5 separate regions of the Homo sapiens genome follow, and all the other regions are linked to region 4. The links are contacts of gene promoters, found by promoter capture Hi-C in blood cells and fetal thymus (Javierre and others, 2016). All regions are on one chromosome and are shown on one strand. Each heading gives the region's core, a stretch centred on a gene start or on the middle of the fragment in contact. The rest is flanking DNA. Distances are from core to core; before and after follow the strand shown. Region 1 overlaps NAP1L1 (nucleosome assembly protein 1 like 1). Region 2 has its middle 16 kb from the start of PHLDA1-AS1. Region 3 has its middle 67 kb from the start of NAP1L1. Region 4 holds the start of GLIPR1L2 (GLIPR1 like 2). Region 5 has its middle 54 kb from the start of PHLDA1-AS1.

Region 1 (5,282 bases), core at 676-3,175, 670 kb after region 4:
CTGTTGTTTCCTTCTTTGTGTTCATGAGTTCTCATCATTTAGCTCCTACTGGTAAGTAAGAATGTACGATATTTGGTTCTCTGTTCATGTGTTAGTTTGTTAAGGATAATAGCCTCTAGCTCCGTCCACGTTCCCACAAAAGACATGATCTCGTTCTTTGTATGGCTGCAAGTATTACGTGGTGTATACATTTTCTGTATCAGATCTGTCACTGATGGGCATTTAGGTTGATTCCATGTCTGCTAATGTGAACAGGGGGCACTGATTTTTAAAAGGTTATACACACTAGGTTATGAGTCTCCTAAAGAATGATTAAACCTCTCTAACAATAAATGTTCACACTTAAAATTTAAATAACTTCAGGGAATCTGTGCAACAGATACAAAATCCAGGTTAAACTTTCCTGCCACAAACTTTTGTAAATCAAATAATTCACTTACTTAGCCACCAGTTTACTTAAGATTATTAGAAATAAAAAACAAACACTTGAAGATATCAACTTTCTATTTCTGTTAATTTTAAGTGAAAAGCACTATTCTGCCAAGGTGGTGAACTGGCATGGGCTTCTGGCTTTTCTTGCTCCCCCAAAAAGCTAATCCCAGAAACTTTAGAACAAGAATGAAGTAACTACTGAGGCACACACACACCATAAGCAATTTCAGGTAAGACTGGAGGTTGTGTTTAACTGTACAGGGTAACCAACAACTTAGGGAGGGAATGGCCACAGCAGGTAGCAGTGCGGACAAACTGGAAGATAGCAGTTCCGCAAGAAAGCTTTTTAAGTTCTGCTCCTGCCTTGCAACAATCGTTGTCTGTCATCTTCACCCTTCACAAGAGCCCAATGCGAGGGTTGATGAAAGCTGCACGGTTCAAAGCCTTCAAACATGTATTTGATCCAATCTAGGAATGATGAATTGACAACCAAAGGAGACTAGTCCCCCACCCTACAAAGCACACCATAAAAATTGCCTGGACTGGCAGCAAACTTTCAGTGTAAGGCAACTAGTGCTCTACTACTTAGGCTCACCCTGCGCCCTTCTCCTTGTCACAGACCTTCATTTCTCCCCAAATATTCATTATTAGGGTAACTGGTATTGCCTAATGTGCTGGAGCTCAGAGAATAACTAGAAACTTCAAGGGTACAATTTCTATGAAAGAGTGAATGAAATGATTATCATCTGAAGCAGCATAATTAGAGAATTTAAACAAGAATGTAAATATACTTAGAGATGAGGAAGATTGACATGCAACAAGACCAAGAAATCTACAACAGACTGGGAATGTTAAGTATGAAAAATACAATAACTAAAATAGGCAACAAATAAGAGAAACAGGATAGATTCGACTGAAGATAAAGTCCATGATGTTGAAAAGTTCTACCAGAAGGCAGCATGAAAGACAGATGGAAAATAGAAAAGCTCTGAGATATGGACGACAAAAGTAGCAATAGCTGACAGAGAAGGGGTACGATCTCTTCACATATGAGAATGATACATTTCTCAGCATTAAAGCAATATAAAAATCCTTACTCTGCTTCCTAGACATGTTAATGAGATTTATGAATATCACAGACAAAAGAAAATTCTAAAGGTGTCCAGTGAGAAAGAATAACCTACAAAGAAAAAGGAATCAGACTAACAACAGGCATTAAAAGAAACACTGAAATAAAGAAAAAAATAAATTGTAGTTTTTAAGAACTCTGAATTTACTATTTCATAACCAAACTATTATTCAGATATAAAAGCAGGACAAAAATTATATCAGGTATACCAGGCTTCAGGTTTGCCACAGATACTCACTATATATTACTAAAAGCAACTTTTGAGGAAAATTTTTTAAAAATCCAGCAGATTCTATTTAAGGTATGGGTGTGGTCAAATATCTTGGTAAATTTCTTTCCTTGAAGGGAAAAATAGAGGGCCAGAGAAAGCACATTTATGAACAATATAAATATTGGTAAATTTAAGAAATCAACAGGGGTAAATAAACTTAGATATTAGGTTATAAGCCACTACCATAGTAACAAAAATCAATGCCATTAACTTTGGAACCAGAAGGCGACTTGATCTATCCAATGGGAAGCAGAAAAGAAGGAAGAAAGACCCAAAGTAAAATAAATTAAAAAATAGAGAAAGATGGCAGCAATAAATCCAAAAACAATACAACTTCTAAGAAATGCAACTAATAATAAAGAAGCAAACATTGAGGCCGAGTGTGGTGGCTCATGCCTGTAATCCCAGCACTCTGGGGAGCCCAGGCAGGTGAATCACTTTAACTCGGGAGTTCGAGACTAGCCCAGGCAACATGGCAAAACCCCATCTCTACAAAAATACAAAAATTAGCCAGGCATGGTTGTGCATGCCTATAGTCCCAGCTACTTGGGAGGCTGAGGCAGGAGAATCACTTGAGCCGAAGGATGAGGCTGCAGTGAGCCGTCATTGTGCCATGGCACTCCAGCCTGGATGACAAAGCGAGACACTGTATCCAAAAAATAAAAGCAGCAAACACTGATACTAGAGGAAGACACACAGATGAAAAGATGGAAAAAAAAGACATACTAGGTTAAAAGTTTAAAAAAAAAAAAAAAAAAAAAGAGGCTGGGGGTGATGGCTTATGCCTGTATTCCCAGCGCTTTGGAAGACCAAGGTGGGCCCAACAGTTCGAGACCAGTCTGGGCAACATAGGGAGACCCCCATCTCTACAAAAATAACAGCCAGGCATGATGATATGTACCTGTGGCTCCCAGCTACTTGGGAGGCTGAGGTGGGAGGATCACAGTGAGCCATGAGTGTGCCACTGTACTCCAGAGTGGATCACAGAGTAAGGCCTTGTCATAAAAGCTGGGGGTTATTATTGTAATATCAGACAAATAAAAATTATGACCCCCCCAAAAAACATTATAAAACACAAAGGAAGACACATATCAGTAAAATGAAACAAGAGAACAAGAAATGTTCATCACAAATATCATACACCTAATATGGCTCCAAAATATTTCAATCTACAAATGACAGAAAAAACTGTCAGGTCAAACAGACAACCAATAAGCAGAAATAAAGAGAAGCTGAACAATACAATAAGCTTGAGCTATTAATTTCAGCATACAGATCTTCACACTCAACATTTACAAAAGTAAGAGTATTAAGGCCATAAAAAACACAAATTAAAAAATAAAAATCAAATGAATTAAGCATTCAATTTAAAAAACTGGAAAGAATAACATAGAGCAATCCTAAAAAAGAGATAACAGCAGCAGTAACAAAAGACAGTATGGAAAAGGAAAACCAAAAGCAAAATTAATATTCTAAAAACTTAATAAGATCAAGACAACCAGCAGAATTAAGATGCAAAATACAGAATATGAAAACCAGATTTTTAAAACTATTGTAAACTATGTACTAATCAATTTTAAACCTAAATATGTACATGTTTAAAATATGAAACTCCAAAACTGATGAGAGAACTTGAATAAATTAGTATGTTTAAAAAAAAAAAAATTCTCCAAAACTCCCCTGGACCTCTACTTCCCCAACTCCAAAGTCCCAAAGTAAATTTTTAGAAGAGTTCTACCCTAAGAACTGCTAATTGCTATCTTATGCAAGTTGTTTCAGGAAACGAAAAATTTTAAAAGCTGCTCCATTCCTTAGGCAATTGAAATCTTGACTCCAAAAACCAGTTAAATATTACCACTTCCTGAAACTTTCTTTATGCACATACATACATGCATGCACACAACACAAGCTCATTTCACTAACAAGTAAGAACTGTAAAATTCAATTACTCAACAATGTAACAATAACACATCATGATTCAATTTACTACAGGAATGCAAGGCTAGTTTGATATCCAAAATAAGTATTTCCAAAACATGTATTTACTATTTACTTAATATACTGAAGGGAAAAGTTCAATAGAGCATCTTAATTGATACAGTTAAAAAAAAAAACCAAAGGTCAGATTAAAAAACAGTAAATAGGCACTGAATTTAATGGAGATTTTATATTCATTCCCAGTATGAATAGAAATAAGACAAAGAATACTAATGTTTAACACAGTAGTGAAAGTCCTGGTAATGTTGTAAAGAAAAGTATGTGGTATAATGTAATGTGGAAGAACAGAGCTAAAACTGCCATTATTTGCAGATAAAATCTTGTGACTGGGGGGCAAAACAGAACACATTACTACAATAAATTTAGCAAAGTTACTGGATACAAGAGCAACTTAAAAAAAAAAAAAACAGCAATCCTCTGTAAATCAAGAACAGCCAAACAGAAAATACAAAAAAGATGCTATTCACAACAGCCACACAAAATATACAGAAATTAACTTAACCAATAGACTCTATGAGGATAACTTTGAAACTAAAGACACAGAATGTGACCTGAATAATTAGAAGTATGTGGATGAGACAATATTAAAAGATATAATTCTGTAAATCTACAAATGCAATATAATTCCTATCAACGTTTTAAGGTTTTTTTGCTTGTTGACAACCCTGGTAAACTTAACTGTCAAAAATGTGGATGATTGGGGGAGAAGTATGAAAGGATGCAACCTGCCCTGCCAAATATTAAGACAACTATAAAGTCATAGTAATTAAGTATGACAATGACAAGAGACAAAGACCAATAAAACATAAGAGTGCTGCTCAAAGACAAACACGGGTGTTTACAACTTGATATGCAATGAAGGTAGGTGGTACACCTAAATGGGGGAACAATGGATTGATTAGTGAATAGTGTTTAAAAAAAAAAAAAAAACTAGCTCATGTCACTGGAGGAGGACCCAAAATAAATAAATAAATAAATAAATAAATAAATAAATAAATAAACAAACAAACAAACAAACCTGGCTCAAAAAATGAGGCAGAAAAAAAAGGAACTGGAAGCCTACGTACAACTAATACAAAGGTAGACTCTAAAGGGATTTAAGACCTAAATGTAAAAGGTGAAACTATTCAATACGAAATGTAGCAGAAACCAGGAGGGACTTCTTAAAAAGTTTCAAAAGTACAAGCCCTAGGGCAAAATATTTTACTAAAATAAAACTTAACTGTTTACCAGAGGACTCCATGGATAAATTTGTAGAAATGACACATTATTTAGAATGTCTAAAAACTGACAAGGGAATAACATTTGGAATACAAAGACTTTTGCAAAGCATTAAAAAAAAGTTGCAATCCCAACAAGAAAGTGGAAAAAGGGTACCAATGGGCAACGAAAAAGGTTCAAGCATTATGTAGAAAAGCTAAAAACTCATTAGAAATCATAAAATACAAATAA
Region 2 (4,969 bases), core at 83-2,582, 620 kb after region 4:
CGTGAGTCTGACTCTCCACTGAACTCCATTTTCATCTCCAGGTTCATTCCTTTGCTGGTGATGTGCCATCACATGCTCCAACTGTACTTGCCACCAGGGAAATTGGAACTGCCCCATTCCTGGAGTTCTAGTGCTCTTGAGCCCCAGGCATTCCATGAGAGAAGCCTCCTTCTGGAAAGTCCCATGAGCACCTCATGCCGGGTGGTCAGACGTGCACCAAGGGCTGATAGTGTGAAGTGGTGTGGGCAGGGGGAGACACAGACCCTGGGCAGGAATCAAAGATAAAGCTTCTATCCACATAACAGGCAGATTGTCCAGATGTCCCACGCAAGGGCCTGGAAGAGATGAGGTTGCAGGCAGACCAAGGAGAAGGTGGAGGAAGGGAGGGGAGGAAGTACTGAAACAGAGCTCTTAGAAAGATGTTCACTGCTGGGCAACACCATCACCTCCTCTAGAAGGCATGGATAGCACCAAGTAAGTGTGAGAGCTTTGCCATCACCCTTCCAGGCAATTTGCTTTTAGTGTCTTTGTAACACTTGGAGTTTGCATCTTACTCAAAATCTCTCCCCGGTCTGCTTCCCTGGCAAAGTCTGTCTTGCTTTTTGCATCTTTGCCCCCTCTATAACTCCTACATCCCTTAGGAACCTGGTCTTCCTGGGAAAGCGTCTTCCACACATACCCCACCTCCACCTGCCATCTCACCCGCTACACACACTCAAAAATTCCCCAGCCCCTCAAACAGGGGGTAAGAGGAATCCCTTAGGACAAAAAGGTGCATCTCCTACCTGAAGAGCAACCTGGATTCTGCAGACTGAGGGAGGCGGCTCTGCTTCAGGGCTCTGCAGTCTCTGAAGTAAAATGAGATTCAAAGCTGGGAGGAGAAGGGTCATGGTCAGCTGCCCCTTCCACACTCCCACGCTGAGCCTCAGCATCTCTCCTGCCTGAGTGGTAGCCCTGTCCAAATGCCTAGGGCCTGGGCCGTTGAGGATTAGGCCTGAACCCAGTAATCCCCAAGGAGCTGCAGAAAGCCGACTTGATGGGTCTCCTGGTGATATCATTGCAGCCAGAGAGCACACACAGGGTGCAAGCAGTCAGATGAGACAGCCAGGACAGGAGGGGCTGCAGCCCTTCCACAACACCACAAAGACCCTCACATGCTCATTTTGGCAGGGCGCAGTGGCTCACACATGTAATCCCAACACTTTGGGTGGCTGAGGTGGAGGATCACTTGAGCCCGGGAGTTTGAGACCACTCTGGGCGACATAGTGAGACCCCATCTTTACAAAACATAAAGTTAAAAACATTAGCTGGGCATGGTGGCATTGCTCCGGTAGTTCCAGCTACTTGAGAGGCTAAGGTAGGAGAATGGTTTGAGCCCAGGAGTTTGAGGCTGCAGTGAGCTATGATTGCGCCACTGCACCACTCCAGCCTGAGCAACGAGTGAGATCTTGTCTAAAAACAAAACAAAACAAAAAGCTCATTTTTAAATGTTTATTATTTTTGTTTTTTGTTTTAAATAGCGATGAGTTGCCCATGCTGGCCTCAAACTCTTGAGCGAGAGTGATCCTCCTGCCTTGGCCTCCCAAAGTGCTGGGATTACAGGTGTGAGCCACCACACCCAGCCAGAAAGTTCTTTTTAAAAGGGGAGAAACAACAGCTCCAGAAGGGGCTTTGATAAATTATTTAATTTAAAAAAATCAAATTAAAGTAAAGAGGGTAAAGAGCTGGGTGAAAGCGAGCTAGGTGAAGAGCTTGCGTGTCCATCCTCCTGCCGAGATGTGGTGAGCTTGCCCTCATCCCATCAGCTGGACAGCTCTCCACTGAGCCTACCCATTCACCATGATTCTTGCTTTTCCTCAGCTAAGGCCCTGGGTGCAGGCTTAGCACTGTGGGGGGCCTCTGGGATGATGAGATGTTCTCATTAATTCCTCAGGCAGCAGTGTTTGCAGTTGGGAGACATGACTTCCATCCCGCTCCTTATAAAGTCATATGTTTTTCTTGAATAAATGCTAAATCAAACTAGTCTTTCTGTTTTTTCCCCTCAATTCATAACCTCATCATTCCACAAATAAAATGATGCCTTCAAAACCCACAGACTGTTTTGCAGGGTGGTCTGGGAGAGATGCCGCCTGAGCCGGCCTATGGCTCCAAACTCATCGCTGGAAGATCACAGCTGCCCTCTCCCCGGCCACTCTCTTTTCATGAGGAAAGGTGAGCCCGGCTGCCCTTGGTCTCCCCCAGGCCTGCTTACATTAAAGGGTTGGGAGTTAGCCTCCTGCCCTGAAAGGAATAGGGGTTCTGGAGTATCTCAGATCCGTATCAAATCACAGCTTTGCCGCATAATTGCCCTCTGCTCTTGGGAACTTTCTCAACTTCTGTAAGCTTCTGTTTTCTTATCAGTAAAAGGGAGATAACAATACCTATCTCGAGGCACTGTTATGATAAAAGACCTGTCATAAAATAAATGCTTAGAAAATGGGAACTATTATTGTTCAAGTTTTATTATATTTCCTCAATCGTTATTCTCTCCGTTTACATAATTGAAGTAAAACACTGCTCATTAGAGTGTGCAGGTAATAGAGGACTTGGCTTAAATAAATTTTCTGCCTAAATTAAGTCTTTTAAAACCATCCATTTTCACTTTTAGGTCATGGTGTAGAAAATAATTCTAGATCAAGTTAGAATATGTTCCGACCTCAGCAAGCAACCACGTACTTTGATTATGTAGCACCCTTCATTATTCTAAGGAGTTCTCATTATACAGGTGGGTTGAAGACACACTGTGTGTCAAAAGAACCAAAACCAAAACAAAATCCTATAAAATAGCAGGTCTTATAGTTTCCTTCTTTTTCCCATAGGAAGGAAGGGGAAAATCACAGAGTAAAACCAGATGCTTTTGTAAATTGATGAAGATGTTTGCTGCATGTGGCTCCAAGAGATTGAAATTAAAAGGGCAGGCTGGGTGCAGTGGCTCACGCCTGTAATCCCCACTTTGGGAGTCCGAGGCAGGTGGATCACGAGGTCAGGAGCTCGAGACCAGCCTGGCCAATATGGTAAAACCCCATCTCTACTAAAAATATTTAAAAAATTAGCCGGGCATGTTGGCAAGCACCTGTATTCCCAGCTACTCGGGAGGCTGAAGCAGAGAACTGCTTGAACCCGGGAGGCGGAGCTTGCAGAGAGCCGAGATCACGCCATTGCACTCCAGCCTGGGCAACAGAGCGAGACTCCATCTCAAAAAAAAAAACAAAAAACAAAACAAAACAAAAAAAAACAAAGAAAGAAAAAGAAATTAATAGAGCAGGGTGAGGGTGTCTTATGTCTGTAATCCCAGCACTTTGGATAGCCGAAGGAAGATGATTGCTTGAGCCCAAGAGTTTGAGAATAGCCTAGGTAACATAGACCCCATCTCTACAAAACATTTAAACAATTAGCTGGGCATGTTAGTACATGCCTGTTGTGCCAGCTACTAGGGAGGCTGAGGCAGGAGAATCATTTGAGCCCAGGAAGTCAAGGTTGCAGTGAGCCATGTTCGTGCCACTGTACCCCAGTAAGAACCTGAAGAAGAAAGAAAGAAAGAAAGAAAGAAAGAAAGAGAGAGAGAGAGAGAGAGAGAGAGAGAGAGAAAGAAAGAAAGAGAAAGGAAGAAAGAAAGAAAGAGAGAGAGAGAGAGAGAAAGAAAGAGACAGGAAGAAAGAAAGAAAGAAAGAAAGAAAGAAAGAAAGAAAGAAAGAAAGAAAGAAAGAAAGAAAGAAAGAAAGAAAGAAAAGGGAAGGGAAGGAGGAAGGAAGGAAGGAAAGAAGGAAGGAAGGAAAGAAGGAAGGAAGGAAAGAAGGAAGGAAGGGTCATGAAATGGGGATGCTCTTTAGCAGACAGTGGAGACAAGCACTTTCTAGATGTTTTGTCTGAATGGAGACAAAGTTCTCTCACATCTCATTATTTTAATCGTCACACTAGCTCCATGAGACAGGATTTATTATACCTATTTTACAGGTAAGAAAACTAAGATTCAAAAATGTTAGGTGACTTGTGCAAAGTTACACAGCTTAAGAGAGTCAGCACTGAGTCATATCCAGGTCCTTCAAATTCAAAGTTGTAGTCTTTCCAAAGAAAGGCAAATGAGTACAGAAATCACTACTTGTAAACTATTACAACTGAAACAGGGCAATTGAAGAATATCTTTACTCTAAAGACAAAGAAACTAAAGTCCAGAGACGCAAAATCATGTGCTCAGGGTCACACAACTTGTTAACGGCAAAGCCAAGTCTAGAATCTAGGATTCTTTCTACTACTCTTTGTTGACCCTTGAGGAATCTCCCGGGATAGTGTAAAAGCATGCTCCTCTTGTTGAGCATGAATGAAAAGCCTGAGATTCTTCTCCTGTTTTCTTGATTTGGATCTTTTGATAGACTCTGTGATTGGTGCTGGACATGACGTCTCTAAGGGAGCTAGCTTCTGCAAAACCAGCAAGCACCACTGATGGTGTCTCTGGCTTTATTGCTCCAGTTTCCGCTAAGAACCTTCGATCTTTCTTATATCTTTACCATGTCAATATGACTCTGACAGGAAGGCACTGAAAGCAACTACGTATTTCTGTTTTGAAATTTAGTTTTGTTCTATTTAAATTGTTCAGATGTAACGAAGGACCAATTGAAAATCATTACAACAGTACCATATGAGAAAGGAAAGTGTAAACCTTAGTAAGAATTATAAGAATACCTAAAATAGCCGGGCGCGGTGGCTCACGCCTGTAATCCCAGCACTTGGGGAGGCCGAGGCGGGCGGATCACGAAGTCAGGAGATCGAGACCATCCTGGTTAACATGGTGAAACCCCTTCTCTACTAAAAATACAAAAAAAATTAGCTGGGTGTGGTGGTGGGCGCCTGTAGTCCCAGCTACTCGGGAGGCTGAGGCAGGAGAATGGCGTGAACCCGGGAGGCAGAGCTTGCAGTGAGCCGAGATCACGCC
Region 3 (5,507 bases), core at 2,485-4,984, 760 kb after region 4:
CTGTGCATTTGTTAACAATTTCTTTTTTTAAGCCCAGTGGCAAGAAGAGCTTCTTGTTATATGGTCATAATGTTGAAAATTGTAATATATGCTGCAAGAATGCAACTCCAGTACTGTGGAAAGAATTCCTCTTTTGGAATTTACAGGAATCACAGTCGAAGAACAGAGAAAGGTGAATAAGGAAGCAAACTGAGCTGATATGATATTTCCTTCAGCTCAGGACTGGCCAACATCTTTATTTGGTACAAAGAACAGTGCCAGATGACAATCCTACAGAGGAATTTGAAAGAAAATCTCCAGCGGAGGGTGAGATTTGAAATGCAGAGTCAGTGAGCCAACTTCTGATAGTCCAGGCAGCCAGGTCAACTGCAATGCCTACAGGTGAGGTTGGGCTTCACTAATAACACCTAAACCATCAAAATCACCTGGAGGAGCATTTAAAAGGTGGACTCCTGGTTCTACTCCAGATGCATTGAATCCAAATGGGGATGAGGCAATAAGTCTGTGCCAAGCACTGTTCTAGGCACTTTTATTATTCTGGACACTATTATTATCATAGTCCCTATTATTTTATTAATTCAACCATTGCATTTGTCAGGTATTGGCCCCTTTTTACAGGTGAAGAAGCTGAGGCTCAGAGAGGTTGAGTAACTGGCATCGAGTCACAGAGCTGTGACTCCAACCAAAGTCTGCTTCTAGCGCCTTTGTAACCCTTGCACTCTGCCAGAACTGGAAATGAGGTAATGGAGACATACTCAAACTTATAGTTGTGTTATTTTTAAAATAATAAATATTATTATTTAGTGCCCAGAAACATGTATTCTTTTTCTGATGCCATTTATTGCACATGTAACCTTTTTAGAAATAAACTTTATTTTTAGAGCAGTTTTAGATTTTCAGAAAAATGCAAAAAATTGTACAGATAGCTAGGTCCCATACATACTGCACCCAGCTTCCCCATTGTTAACATCTAACATTAGTATATTTGTTACCATTAATGAATCAATATTATTTAGAGTCAGCAGAACTGTATGCAAGACTCAGGGTTATCTCTTATGGCTTGAGCGGTCTTGGAAAAGAAACATAATCTGTTGAATCTTAATTTACTCATCTCTAAAATATAAGTAATAATAATAAAGATTTTGGCCAGGTGTGGTGGCTCACACCTGTAACCCCAGCACTTTGGCAGGCCAAGGCGGGCGGATCTTTTGGGGTCAGGAGTTCGAGGCCTGCCTGTCCAACATGGTAAACCCTGTCTCTACCAGAAATACAAAAAATTAGCTGGATGTGGTGGCATGCACCTGTAATCCCAGCTACTGGGGAGGAGAATTGCTTGAACCGAGGAGGCCAAGGTTGCAATGAGCCGAGACTGTGCTGCTGCACTCCAGCCTGGGTGACAGAGTGAGACTCCACCTCAAATAATAATAATAATAATTTCACAGGGATATGTTGGTATATTTGAGGAGAGCCCCATACCCACACTCTTCCCTTGCCTACCTCCTGTAGAGGCTGAAGTAGCTCCATTAGGGTTCCTAAATCTGATAAAGAAAAATGTGGCTATCTGCAGGGAAGTGGTTTTATAATACCGAATTCCAACAAGAAACATATTGGCACGATGAGGCACACTGGCCAGACAATAACAGGGAGCACAGAGGAACAATGAGCATGTGCTTCAGCCAGAAACTTTCTAGAAGCAGCAGCAAGGAAGGAGTGGGGCTCCACATGGCCAGTGTCCTCTTCAAAGCTCATCAATCTGTTAGAGTCCCTCCCCTTTCCTAAGGAGAGGAGCTGGATGGGGGTCAGAGGCTGGGAGCTCAATGCTAATGGTGATTGGACACCCCTAGTAGTTAGATTTACACTTAGGAATTGACCTACATGTGTGCACTCAAATGAATGTGTCTGGTACAAGTATTCACCAGAAAGGTACTTGCTCCAAATAACTCCTTCTGCAACAGGTACTCATTTTTATTTTTCATCAAAGACTGCTATATTTGTTTCAGAAATAGTCCAGTTGCTAACAGTGAGTAGGCATTTGTGTAAGGTTGTAAAAAAGAAATGTTTTGAAATGAATCTCTATTATGACTACAGAAAAGACAATCAGATTAATTATGTTCATGGACAGCGTTTTACTGATAATGATTTCCAAAATTGGCTCATCAACAGAGTCACCTTTTTGAAAATAGAGACCTGGATGGGTGCGGTGGCACACCCCTGTAATCCTAGCACTTTGGGAGGCCGAGGCAGGTGTTCGAAACCAGCCTGACCAATATGGTGAAACCCTGTCTCTATTAAAATTAAAAAAAAAAAAATTAGCCAGGCATGGTGGCGGGCACCTATAATCCCAGCTACTCAGGAGGCTGAGGCAGGAGAATCGCTTGAACCTGGGAGGCAGAGGGAGGTTGGAGGTTGCAGTGAGCCGAGATTGCACCACTGCACTCCAGCTTGGGCAACAAGAGCGAAACTCTGTCTCAAAAAAAAAAAAGAAAAGAAAAAAAGGAAGAAAGAAAATAGAGTCCTATGTTCCACTTGGTCAGAATATCCATAAGTGAGGCTGAGGTCGCTAGAGAAATTTTTGAAAAGTGCCTTAGGAACGCTAGTAATCAGAGTTTGGGACTTATTGGTGCAGACTGTATAGAGGGACATTTAACACTGAAATTTGATTTTGGGTGAAAAAAGTAATTTTTTTCCCTAAAAACCATAGTCTTGAGTTATTAAAATGTACAAACAGATTTTATTTATTTTATAAGCTTTTCTGACTTTGAAAGTCTTTTCAAATCAGTAAAATATTTTAGTCTCAGCAAAACTATTATATTCTATACTTTGGCTATTAAGTATTAGCAGACAAGCTGCTGGAAAAGTTAAATCTTTAAAAAGTTTGCAATTTGTGCTGCAAATGCTAAACCTATGTTTTTATCTTCCCTATATATACCGATGTTTTTATCCTCCTTCCTGAGAAGGTATGCTGTTTGAACAGACAAAAATACAGATACTGCCTAGCCAACACTAAAAATAGGAACATGTCTGAAATTCACATACTCATATGCCTCCCTGCACTTCCTGTACCCACCTACTGCTTTCTCTAGTTTCTATCCCTGGCTGCGGAACCAGCCCATCCCTTTCCTAAAGAGGCTTCTCTGTTGCTACATATCAATGCAGAAACCATTGACGTGCTTCTGTGTCAGCAATAATGCTCTGTCTTTCCTACCTCATTCAAGGATCCCAGGATTCTTTTTGAACAAGAAAGAAAGGTTTATTAGTCCTCCCCACACTTCAATGCGGCAAGGAGTCAGTATTATTTTGAATGAGGCCCAGAATGAACTCAGCAGATTCATAGAACTGGTCAGAGTGGCAGGTGAATCAAAAGTTGAGTTACAGGCCAGGTGTGGTGGCTCATGCCTGTAATCCCAGCCCTTTGGGAGGCTGAGGTGGGAGGATTGCTTGAGTCCAGGAGTTAGAGACCAGCCTGGGCAACATAGTGAAAACTTGTCTCTGAAACAACAACAACAAAAATTAAAAAATTAGCTGAGCATGGTGGCACTTACCTGTAGTCTTAGCTACTCAGGAGGCTGAGGTGGGAGGATTGCTTGAGCCCAGGAGGTTGAAGCTGCAGTGAGCCATGCTCACACCACTGCAGAGTGAGATCCTGTCTCAAAAAATAAATAAATAAAAGTTGAGTTACAAATTTGTTTCTATTGGTTTTTTTTTTTTTTTAGACGGAGTTTCCCTCTTGTTGCCCAGGCTGGAGTGCAATGGCATGGTCTTGGCTCACCTCAACCTCCGCCTCCCGGGTTCAAGCAATTCTCCTGCCTCAGCCTCCCGAGTAGCTAGGATTACAGGCATGCACCACCATGCCCGGCTAATTGTATATTTTCATTAGAGATGGGGTTTCTCCATGTTGGTCAGGCTGGTCTCCAACTCCCGACCTCAGGTGATGTGCCCGCCTTGGCCTCCCAAAGTGCTGGGATTACAGGCATGAGCCACTGCACCTGGCCTCTATTGCTTCATTTATTTATTTATTTATTTTAATTCAAGAAGAAAAATCAGCCTTATGTCTGCCAGTTTCTATTCTATTTAGCAGATTTCTCTTTGCTTTGTTCTAAATATACATAATTACTTTTTCATTTTCATACTCATTCTGAGAAATCTGAATTAATAATTATTTACTGAGTGCAATATCAGCTAGCTATTGCTGCATAACAAATTTAGCTGGTTAAAACAGCAAGTACTTATTTCACTCATAATTCTGCAGGCTGGTTGTGTAGCTTTTCTCTAGGTTTGCTTTCCTGTTCTTTGCTGGGCTTGCTTATATTGTCTGTGGTCAGCTGGAGATTTGACTGGAAGCTGGATGGTCTAGGATGGCCTTGCTCACATGTCCGGCCGTTGGCAGGTTGTTGGTTAGGAGCTGGCTGGCAGGGACACTTCATACTTTCTCCTTTCATCTTTCAGCATGCCAGTTTGGGCTCCTCCACATGGAGATCTCAGGGTTCTAACCACAGCAAAAGAGAACAAGGCATAATGTGCAAGTCTCTGCTTGCTTCTTATTTGCTAGTCTCATTTTCTAAATCAAGTCACACAGCCAAGCCCAGACGCAAGGTATGGTGAAATAGAATCTACCTCTTGGTGGGAGGAGCTTCAAATTCACATTTTAAAGAGGTATGCTTACAGAGATGGGAAAAAATTATAGTCATTTTTGCAATTCACCACCAGTACATAGTTTGTATGAAGCTTAACATTTTAGAAATATAGACAAAGCATCCGCCATTGTGTGTGTGTATATATATAATATATATATAAATTTATATATATATATATATATGCACTTTTTTTTTTGAGACTGAGTCTCACTCTGTCACCAAGGCTGGAGGGCAGTGGTGTGATTTTGGCTCACTGCAACCTCCACTTCCCAGGTTCCAGCAATTCTCCTGCCTCAGCCTTCTAAGTAACTGGGATTACAGGCACTCACCACCGCGCCCAGTTAATTTTTGTATTTTTAGTAGAGACGGGTCTTCACCATATTGGCCAGGCTGGTCTCAAACTCCTGACCTCAAGTGATTCACCCGCCTCAGCCTCCCAAAGTGCTGGGATTGCAGGCATGCACCACCACGCCTGGCCTGGATTGTATATTTTATTTTAGCCTTACCTGCTGATTGAGTTGCAAATCAGGCAAGTCGAAAAAAAAAAATCCCATTCGACAACACAAATCCTACTTTTCTTTCATGATTTTAGTTTCAGATTACCTGTAGAACTTGATGCCACACAGAGCAGTTGCAGTTGGACCAAAGTGTGGTGATTATAGATGGGGTTGGGGTGAGGAAAGGCTGTCCATGGGCTGTGAGAGTAGGCTTCTCAAGTTTTAAGCTTCCATGATGTCACCATGGACTAAAAGCTTGCAGAAACAAAAGGAAAACAGCAAAAATGCTTTATTTTTCTATAAGAGCAAATAGATCTGGCCTCGCTGGGCAAAAAAACATGTATGCATAATTTAGTGAATGGGCATCTTTGGTGAC
Region 4 (4,845 bases), core at 374-2,873:
AGGAGGCTAGCAATAGTGGCTAAAATTTCTTCCAAATCTAAGATTGCATTATTCTATTTATACTTTTTCTTTAGCATTTTTTGCAGTCTAACAACAGTACCACCATAATAAAAGAATTGCATCTTTCAGCACTTGCCACCTTCACCCTTAAATAGGTTCTAGCCATACTAAAATACTTCTAGCGTTTAGGATCTTCCTCTCCTTAGGCACATTACATGCTTTTCCCTTTGTTTAGAATGCTATCTTAGACTTGTCTGTTTCACTTTCTGTATACAATTTCCAGAAAGGCTTCCCTGCTCCTCCACAAGAGTACCAAGCAATAGAATTTTGGCTTTGTATTTATCACGTTTTAAATACTGCCTGATTGCTAATTCACTAAATTGTAAGCTGCTTGAAAGCTGGATCTGTGTCTTGTCTACTGATCTTTCTCAATCACTTAAAACTTACTACTATGCAGTCATAGTAGTAAGTATTCAAGGGCATAAATGAAACCATCTTACATAGGTCTATTGTTTTTCAATTGTGTGCATCACAGACAATTTTTAAAAGCACTTTTCTTTTTATAAATGTTTGGCTAACCTGTTACAATGTTTTGTAGTAAAATTCTCTCCCAATGTCAATTTTCCATATCTGCTTAATGCTATTAAGCACAATATGTAATATGCAAACGTGTATTCCAAAACTAATACTTGCTTTTTTTCCATGCTTAGAATTTAAAGTCTTCAAAGCAAGTTGGTTTTGTTTTGTTTTGTTTTTGAGGAAAATGTTTGGAGGTAAACAGATCAGACCAAAATCAGCTAGATATTAGCCAATTTTGTCTGGAACAAAAAAAGAAAACAAAAGAGTTCGTTCTTACTGTGAATGCCACAATTAGTGAAAAAGATGAATCTTGATATTCCGGGCTGTCTGAATTGTGCTGATGAGAGAAGAAGTAGAAATGTTTTAACCTTTGAAGAGTTTGGTGATCCCTACTCTCCCTTCACTCCCATTTATTTTGTGGTTTCCCACAAAGGTTCATTTAAAAACTGAAAAAAATCTCATCAATTAAGTTGGCCTTAAGAACTTCTTTGGCCTTAAGAACTAGCAATATTTCTGTATTCCATTCTGTCCCTGAGGAAAATAAAAGGCAGGCCCTGCACCAAATTTCCAACTCAACAGGTAATGGGGAAAAAAAATTTAATTGAATTTGTATCTGTATCGCAGAAAAATCATTTCACCTGGCACAATTAGAAGGTTCCTCAGACCTGTTACTCAGCAATTGGCATTTACCATACAAACTGATGACTCATTAATAACGACATATCATTCAGTGTCAGAAATCAATTCGGGATAACATTTCACTACATTAGTTTAGTGAAAAGGGCTTACTCACGTAACACAAGTCTTTCTTTAGTTTGTCAGACATCTATTACCAGCTTTCTTCACTCTGCAGGTCTAGCTTTCCCCTCCTCTCCCCCTCCCCTACCCACTCTCCCCTCCCTCTTCTCTCCTCCCTCCTCCTTACCCCCTCCTCCCTCCTTTGTTTTTCCCTCCTCCCTCCTCCCTTTCTCCTTCCGGGAGGCGGGACAAGGCTTGCTTGCGTCCTCCGTAGATTGGCAGGTCACTGGGACGGCCAGCGCGTGCGCACTGGCCTGTCAGCGGCCGGTGGACCATGGAGGCCGCAAGGCCCTTCGCCCGGGAGTGGAGGGCCCAGTCCCTACCCCTGGCAGTAGGGGGCGTTTTGAAGCTGCGGCTCTGTGAGCTGTGGCTACTGCTACTGGGTTCTAGTTTGAACGCCAGATTTTTGCCAGACGAGGAGGACGTAGACTTTATCAACGAGTACGTGAACCTCCACAATGAGCTGCGGGGCGACGTCATTCCCCGAGGGTCTAACTTGCGCTTCATGGTGAGGCCGGAAGGCGGTTTGCCGACCCTTCCACTACCGTTGCCACAACGCCTCCCTGGATCTCGGGTAGTTGGGGCCACTGCTCTGAGGCTGAAGGATCGCGGAGAACCGCACTTTTAGCTTGGTTTTTAAAGTACACGTGAAGTTTACACAGAGAAAAACTGCGGACACTCTAACACATGCTTATTACCATGATATTACACAGGGCCAGGACTAAGGTGATGGAGGCACTGGCCTGAAGTGCAGATTTTAAGGGGGCGCCAATTCAAGAAAATGATATTTTAATGCAACGGGTTTTTAAAAATTAAAAATCAGTGCAAAAATATCAATATCAAGGGTAAAGAAAATGTTAAAAAATTTAACAAAGACAGGTTCCTTGGGTCTGGATTAGGGAAAAACAAGTGCGACACTCTCAGGGTGGTGCAAATCAAGATGAGATTCTGTTTGTATTTGAAATTTTTATTTTTAGCTTTTTCCATCATCGATGTCACATTAGCTTTGCCTTTTAAAAATGTTTGTTATCTTGATTTTTTTTTTTTGTGCCCATTCCAAATTTGGCTCCTAAGGAAGTGTCTCAGTTTCCTCACCCTAGTCTTGACCCTGATTTTGCCTTACCTTACAATGCGGTTCTTGCTTTCCCCCTCTTTTACACCCTATAGTCATTTAACAACTCAACTATTCCCTGGTTGCTATTGAGTTTTCCTGACTGTCATTAAAATGACTGAAAATCCGGCAAATAAATAACTGTCCTCTTAGGGAATTAGAAGCTTCAAACTTATAAATTATATTGCAAGGACTACTTTCCTAGACATGTCTTTTCTTCCTTCAGCATTAGTTCTTAGCACAAATTTCAGAAATGGGATAAATAAATTAAGGGTATGATATTTTTTATTAATTTAACACATAGCAATTGCTATGCTAAAGGGTAGTGCCAAATTTAGCAAATACCAGCTGTTCTGTTTTCACCACATCCTCACTGATTTGGACATGTTCAATTACTTGCTAAATGAATAAATTACAAAAATGGTCATTTGTTTTAATGTTGATTTTAAAATACTATTTTGATAGGACATACTTGAGTTCTTTCTTCGTCATTTCCTTTACCTTTTATATTGTCAGCATTTCCATGTCAGATTATATGCTGTCTTATAGAACTATGCTAGCATTTGGTTCTATCTGCTGAAGATACTTTTTTCTAAGCCAATTCTTTTTCTTTTGAATTCAATTATAGAGTTTGGGGATATTTGGGAGTTTCAACTAATTTCCCATTTTTTGTGACTAATTCTGTTTCTTCCCAATTTGAAGATTATCCTTACTCCTGAAAATTAATAAACACATAATACTTTCTAATACAACTTTTCATAGGTTTTCTATCTCATCTCTAAAAATTATATAGTATTTCAAACATAAGGTATATAAAATAATATACCTGTATACCCACAATCGATATTTTTAAATATAGACATTTTTAAAGGAATAGTATTTGATATATAGGTTAAAGTCCCACCCTAAATTTTTACCTTTTTCTTCTTTCTTGAAGTTAATGTATATTTTTCCCATGTATTTTATTAGGACATAAATATTAACTGTAAATAGTATAGTCTATCATAATAGTATGGCCTATTTAAAATGTTTCTTTAGCAGATTTGGACATCACTCAGCTTATTTAAACTCTTTTATTGGTTATTTTTAGTATTTTAATGTATGTACTTTTTATAAATTCCAAAAGTTAATACCTGTAAACTCCACCCAAATATTAATAAGATCTTAGAACACAAATTCTGAATACTTTCCATCCTTATTCATGCTATTGCCGTGTAGTACTTTTGTTCTACCTTGCTTTTAAATACCAAAAAAATTGTTGTTTTTAAAAAATTGTATTACAATATACAGGACATAACATTTACCATTTTAACCATTTTTAAGTGTATAGTTCAGTGGCATTAAGTACATTTGCATTGTTGTGCACCCATTACCACCACCTATCTCCAAAATTTTTTCGTCTTCCTGAACTGAGACTCCATACCCATCAAATAATTACTTTACTCTCCATCTCCCCTCCTCCCAGGCCTCTATCACCATTCTACTTTCTATTCCTATTAATTTGACTTCTTAAGGTACCAAATATAAGTGGAATCATATAATATTTGTCTTTGTTACTAGCTTATTTCATTTGGTATAATGTCTATAAAGTTCACCCATGTTGTAGCATGTGTCAGAATTACCTGTCTTTTTACAGCTGAATAATATTCTACTGTATGCATATACCACATTTTGTTTATCCATTCATTGGTCAGTGGATATTTAGATTGCTTCCATTATTTGGCTGTTGTGAATAATACTGCTATAGACATGGGTGTACATTTATCTGCTCCAGTTCCTGATTTTGCTGTTTTTGGGTATATACCCAGAACTGGAATTGCTGTATCATATGATAATTCTGTTTAATTTTTCAAAGAACCCCCATTCTGTTTTCCATAGTGGCTGCACCATTTTACATTCCCACCAAGAATGTTCAAGGGTTCAATTTCTCCACATCCTTGATAACACTTGTTATTTTCTGTTTTATTTTCCTTATTCCTCTTTTTTTCTTAATGATAACCATCTAGCAGTTATGAAGTGATACCTCACTGTATTTTTTATCTGCATTTCCCTAATGATTACTGATATTGAGCATCTTTTTATTTGCTTCTTGACCAAGATTTTCTCTTCTTTGAAGAACTATCTATTCAAGTCGTTTGCACATTTTTTGGCCAACTTGTTAGATTTTTTGTTGTTGAATTATAGGAATTTTTATAGATTCTGGATATTAATCTTTTTCAGATATATGATTTGAAAGTATTTTCTCCCGTTTTGTAAGTTGCCTTTGCACTCTATTGATAATATCCTTTGATAAACAAAAGTTTTTAACGTCAATGAAGTATAATTTATCATTTTTTGTTGTTATTGTATGTATTTTT
Region 5 (4,901 bases), core at 1,028-3,527, 590 kb after region 4:
ATATCATAAGAGGATAACAATAATATGATCACTGCAATGGAGTTGTGGAGTAGTGCCTGTGTTGGGGAGAAGATGAAAAATCGTTCCTCATGTCTCACAGATTAAAAGGGCAGAATCCTGGAGATGGTTGAAGTAGGAGCTGCTACCCACTACTCCCTCTCCAACTTCCCCCTCTGAAAAAATGCCCTTTAACACTGACACTCAACCTCACATGGTGAGCAAAAACTGCTGGCCCAAGGTCCTGGCCTCTGCCACAGGCTATGAGCCTCATTCAGGTTCCACATTTAGTGTGACACAGATGTTACTTCCTCCTAAAGTTAAGGACATGGACTTAAACAATTCATAAGCACCTCCAAAAATAACTTCCATGTGCTCTGTAAATACCACCTCCAGACATACTCCAAAATTAAATTCCTGCCTCATTTGTTTTCCCGACACCTGCTCCTCAACTGACCAAACTGTTTCCCGTAAGCATTTAACATGCTCTCTTCTGGGGAAACACTGGCTACAGGAACCACACTGGAGAGCTGCCTTACACAAAAGACCAACACAAAACAAAGTACTTGTGCTGCTTTAGTAACATTCCCTGGATAAGGTGCAAGAGGGGTGGGCATTTCACCAAATTGTACTCCACAGTGAATAGCATTATAGCACAAGGAATGTTTCCAGGGTAATCCCCTCCATGCTGTCTTTGTTTTCTAATTAGGCTTTCTTACAGTAAGCTTATAATGTCTCCTACAGACTATGGGCACCAGATCACAGAGGCAGCCAGACCTGTGATGTAAGGAAACACAGAAAGTGGCCTTGGATCAAACATGAGCTTCAAAGATTGACGGTCCTCCTCCATCCCTTATGAAACTACCATAACCTGAAGCCTTTCATCCTGGTGGCTCCGAAGCCTAAGCCAGTGCTTTTTTTTCCCCCTGTTGCCCAAGCTGAAGTGCAGTGGCATGATCTTGGCTCACTGCAACCTCCACCTTCCAGGTTCAAGTGATTCTACTGTCTCAACCACCCGAGTAGCTGGGATTACAGGTGTGCAACACCAGGCCCAGCTGATTTTTGTATTTTTAGTAGAGACAGGGTTTCACCATGTTGGCCAGGCTGGACTTGAACTCCTGACCTCAAATGATCCACCTGCCTCGGCCTCCCAAAGCATTGGGATTAAAGGTGTGAGCCACCACACCCCACACCCAGCCCTAAGCCAGTGCTCTTAAGAAGAAAACTGAGGCCAGCATGGTGGTTCATACCTGTAATCTCAGCATTTTGGGAGACTGAGGTGGGACAATTGCTTCAGGCCAGCTTGGGCACATAGCAAGACCTCGTCACCACTAAAAATTATAAAAACATTAGCTGGGCGTGATCCCAGTTACTCAGGAGGCTGAAGCAGGAGGATCACTTGAGCCGAGAGGTTGGAGCTATAGTAAGCAGTGATTGCGCTACTGCACTCCAACCTGGGTGACACAACAAGACCCTGTCTCAAAAAAAAAAAAAGAAAACTCTGAGACCTTGAACCCATTACTGCTAATAAACCCAATAACTTTTCATTCTGCCTAACAAAAATAGACCCTCCTTTAAAAAGTGGTTGCCAAGGGCACTCCAAGGTCATCAGGCAAGTGAAATAAGAGACAGCTTGATAGAGAAGAAAGAGAACTTGGCTTTGGAGTTAGACCGTTTAGTTCCTCATTATGGCCATTTCTAACTACATAATGATGTTTAGTTACTTAAGTGCTCTGAAATGCAGTGGCCTCCATTACAAAATGGAGCCAACAAAAAAAAATAAGTATCTCCTGGTGTTGTATTTAATAAGATAATGGACTCAAAAGTGCCTGGCACAAAATAGGGGTGTAATAAACGTTAATTTCCTTTTCTGCCTCTACAAACCTGCCTGAGCCAATCAAGGAAGAGAAGGAAGGCGAGGAAGTAAAAATGGTTAAGAATTACATTTTAAGTCCCATTTCCACTCAGCTGCTTTTCCTAGCTCAGCAGAGAACATGTCAGACTAAAGAAGATCAAATAATCTTTGGGGTGAGTTGCCCTGATAAAGAAATATGCTGAAACAGCCTGTATGTTCTCAAAGTAAGAAACCAAAAGGGGAAAGTTCAGGACCTGTAAATAGATCCTTTTCATGCCCAAGTTCTGCAGATTTTACAACTTGCTGGGATATTTCCCAGGGAAATCAGAGAGAGGGGATAGTAAGAGGTGGCAGGGGGTTGGCGGGGAGGATTTCTATATTCCCATCACAGATCATTTAACTCTATTTGCAGCTCAGGAACCCCAGAGCACAGGAGACAGACCACTGAAAATTTCGTGCTTATTTTACCTCTTCACTGTCATTACTTTAAACATGTGTCTTAGCAGGAGTATTATTAGTTCATGACACAGTAGACATGGATAAGCATTTTTATGGAATTTTAGGGTGGGGAGAGAATAGATATATACCACTCTAGCCCAAAGTCATCCTGTGGTCGCTACTTAATACAAGTGAATTACATAGTGCCACCGGCAGAAGATGGAATTGATACTGCTTTACAAAATAACAACCTTGCATACATAGGTGGTAAGAAAAGCAAGGAAATGACTACCACAAAAATCAGGGTAGTGGATACCTCAAGACAGGAGAAGGGAGGTACGTCTAGAAGGTAAACAAAGGAGGGACGTCTGGGCTGGCCATGTTCCATTTCTTGATGGAGGGTATTCACTTTGTAATTATTCATTGTACTATACACTTATGCCTTCTGTTTGCATATTCTATTTCATAATTTTTAAAGGTTTAAAAAAAAGAAAATAATAACCTCTCTTCATTGAGAAAATAATACTTTGCTGTAGGTTTCAGCCCTAGGTATTGCAACATTACCATCATCCTCAGTTGATGTTCTTGTTCCTCCCATAGATTTTTATTCTGGAAGAAGAAGAGGAGGGTAGTATTTTTTTTTTTTTTTTTAAGACAGAGTCTCACTCTGTCACCCAAGGCTGGAGGCCAGTGGCACGATGTCGACTCACTGCAATCTCTGCCTCCTGGATTCAAGAGATTCTCTGCCTCAGCCTCCCGAATAGCTGGGATTACAAGTGCCCGCCACCACGCCTGGCTAATTTTTGTATTTCTAGTAGAGATGGGGTTTCACCACTCTGGCCACGCTAGTCTTGAACTCCTAACCTCAAGTGATCTGCCCACCTCGGCTTCACAAAGTGCTGGGATTACAGGCATGAGCCGCTGTGCCTGGCTAGGAGGGTGGATTTTTGAAGAGCCACAGGTAGACTGCTGTTAATACTCCTGTATAGATAACATACCAGGGAATGTTTTAATACAGGAATATGCTTGAGATATATACACACAAACATAATACACACACACACACACACACGTAATTTTTTTTTTTTTTTTTTTAGAGAGAGACAGGGTCTTACTATGTTGCCCAGGCTGGTCTCAAACTCCTGGCCTCAAGCAATCCTCCCGCCTGGCCTCCCAAAACGCTGGGATTATAGGTGTGAGCTACTGCATCCAGGCTTTTGGGGTATATTTCAAAGAGTCCAATTACTCTTGAGTCAGAACTCAGTGAAGCTCTACAAGATACCAAAATGTTCTCCAAGGGGTACGCAGCATTCGCAAATCAGAGTCATCAGATGCAAAGAAAGGGAATACAAATGGGCTTATGAAATCATTGGAAAAAATACACAATTTTTCAGGAAATATTAAGAACTCAGTTCCTCCTCCAATTCAGGGCATAGCAGAGCCTCAGGGCCTCTATGTGAAGAAAATCCCTCCTGTGTTTGGCATCTGAGTGACTCACCCAGAAAACCATCCACTGCGTGCAGCAAAGAGGAAATGAATCATGGAAGCTTCTGACCTTTGCACTTGTCATCTCTGCACAGGGAAACCACCCACAGACAGTCTCAGCAGAACTGGAGTCAGGGCAGTCAAACAAAGCACACACAGAAATGATGCAAATTCACTGGCAGGGAAGAGCAAGAGAATCAGGGCAAGAGAACGCAGCTCAGGGGTTGCAAATACAGGATAAACATTGGTTTTGTGATACAGAAAACTTAGCAGTTGAAACGGCATTGAGGATGATTTGGCAGTGCCCACTGACCTGTTGTTTTAAGCAGGAATCTGAACCCTTACCCTGCTGGCTGGGGGTGGGAGTGGAGTGGAATGGCATGGAAGAAAACAATGACCTTTGAATCTCCATCTTATATTTGGTATTTGGAGAATTTGCTTGGCTTGCGTTAGAGGAAGTAGGCCAAACTAATGCCAGTATGAGAGTTGGAATGGATTTGATAGAGTCACATTTAAGAAGATGAAAGCCAACGACTGCATTTTGAAAAGGCCATGAGTTCACAATAACTGGTCCAGGAGTACTAACACAATCTGAAGAATTATCTACAGCCATAGTCCAATACTTCACGTTGTGATTTGTTTTAAACAAAATCAGAATGCCTTTAAAATGCTAATTTGGAAGATAACTATAGTTCATCCTAAAACATGTACAGAGTAGAAAGCAAACACCTAGCGAGGACAGAAGGGCAAACCTCAAACTGCCTACATTACTGAATACAAGTGCATCAGGACTGTACGCTGAGATGCGATTGCTCTCAGCTTGTCTGCTCACCCATCAATGATGAGGGGGATAAGTGACTACCTACTGAGTTGCAGAGTTCAAAGGCATTTCCCTTCACCCCAAGGTGAGTTTTAAATGCAATTTCCCTTCTCACATGGGTCTACAAAGTACAGCTTCCTAAATACCTTTTTTAAAAAGAATATACCATCCCTCAAAAAACATCACCCAGGCCTTTGCCCTCAGGATAAACTTGGCAAGGAAACCTTGTCCTTACTAGTTAGAAGACTGGGAATTAGGCACTCGTATGCCACACAGTTTAATACGGAGCTCTCTCCTGTGCTTGAT

The links. Contacts are between HindIII fragments. The CHiCAGO score rates a contact against its expected background, and 5 or more counts as called.
Region 1: a contact is called between a fragment that was not itself captured here and the fragment with the promoter of GLIPR1L2 in region 4, in 1 of 17 cell types (naive B cells). The highest score is 5.2, in naive B cells.
Region 2: a fragment that was not itself captured here is called in contact with the fragment with the promoter of GLIPR1L2 in region 4 in 1 of 17 cell types (naive CD8 T cells); the score reaches 5.8 in naive CD8 T cells.
Region 3: a fragment that was not itself captured here is called in contact with the fragment with the promoter of GLIPR1L2 in region 4 in 1 of 17 cell types (monocytes); the score reaches 5.2 in monocytes.
Region 5: a fragment that was not itself captured here is called in contact with the fragment with the promoter of GLIPR1L2 in region 4 in 1 of 17 cell types (monocytes); the score reaches 5.1 in monocytes.

What each region holds. Positions count from the first base shown.
Region 1 is chr12:76,061,310-76,066,591 of GRCh38, forward strand. The region is part of intron 4 of NAP1L1 (nucleosome assembly protein 1 like 1); the gene reads right to left. Among named protein-coding and RNA genes, the nearest start is that of NAP1L1, 21 kb to the right of the region's middle. The HindIII fragment of the contact is 2,307 bases long and covers 773-3,079 here.
Region 2 is chr12:76,011,912-76,016,880 of GRCh38, forward strand. No RefSeq gene overlaps it. Among named protein-coding and RNA genes, the nearest start is that of PHLDA1-AS1, 16 kb to the right of the region's middle. The HindIII fragment of the contact is 2,095 bases long and covers 286-2,380 here.
Region 3 is chr12:76,149,284-76,154,790 of GRCh38, forward strand. No RefSeq gene overlaps it. Among named protein-coding and RNA genes, the nearest start is that of NAP1L1, 67 kb to the left of the region's middle. The HindIII fragment of the contact is 1,978 bases long and covers 2,746-4,723 here.
Region 4 is chr12:75,389,466-75,394,310 of GRCh38, forward strand. It overlaps GLIPR1L2 (GLIPR1 like 2), which reads left to right and starts at 1,624. Exons shown (of 6, transcript NM_001270396.2): 1 at 1,624-1,885. The coding sequence starts at 1,652. It also overlaps a transcript of CAPS2 not described here. RefSeq lists a silencer at 1,426-1,598 and an enhancer at 1,556-1,685. The HindIII fragment of the contact is 6,589 bases long and covers 1-2,650 here.
Region 5 is chr12:75,974,272-75,979,172 of GRCh38, forward strand. No RefSeq gene overlaps it. Among named protein-coding and RNA genes, the nearest start is that of PHLDA1-AS1, 54 kb to the right of the region's middle. RefSeq lists enhancers at 3,203-4,402, 3,731-3,900, 3,777-3,921, 3,931-3,980 and a cis regulatory region at 3,842-3,855. The HindIII fragment of the contact is 3,115 bases long and covers 721-3,835 here.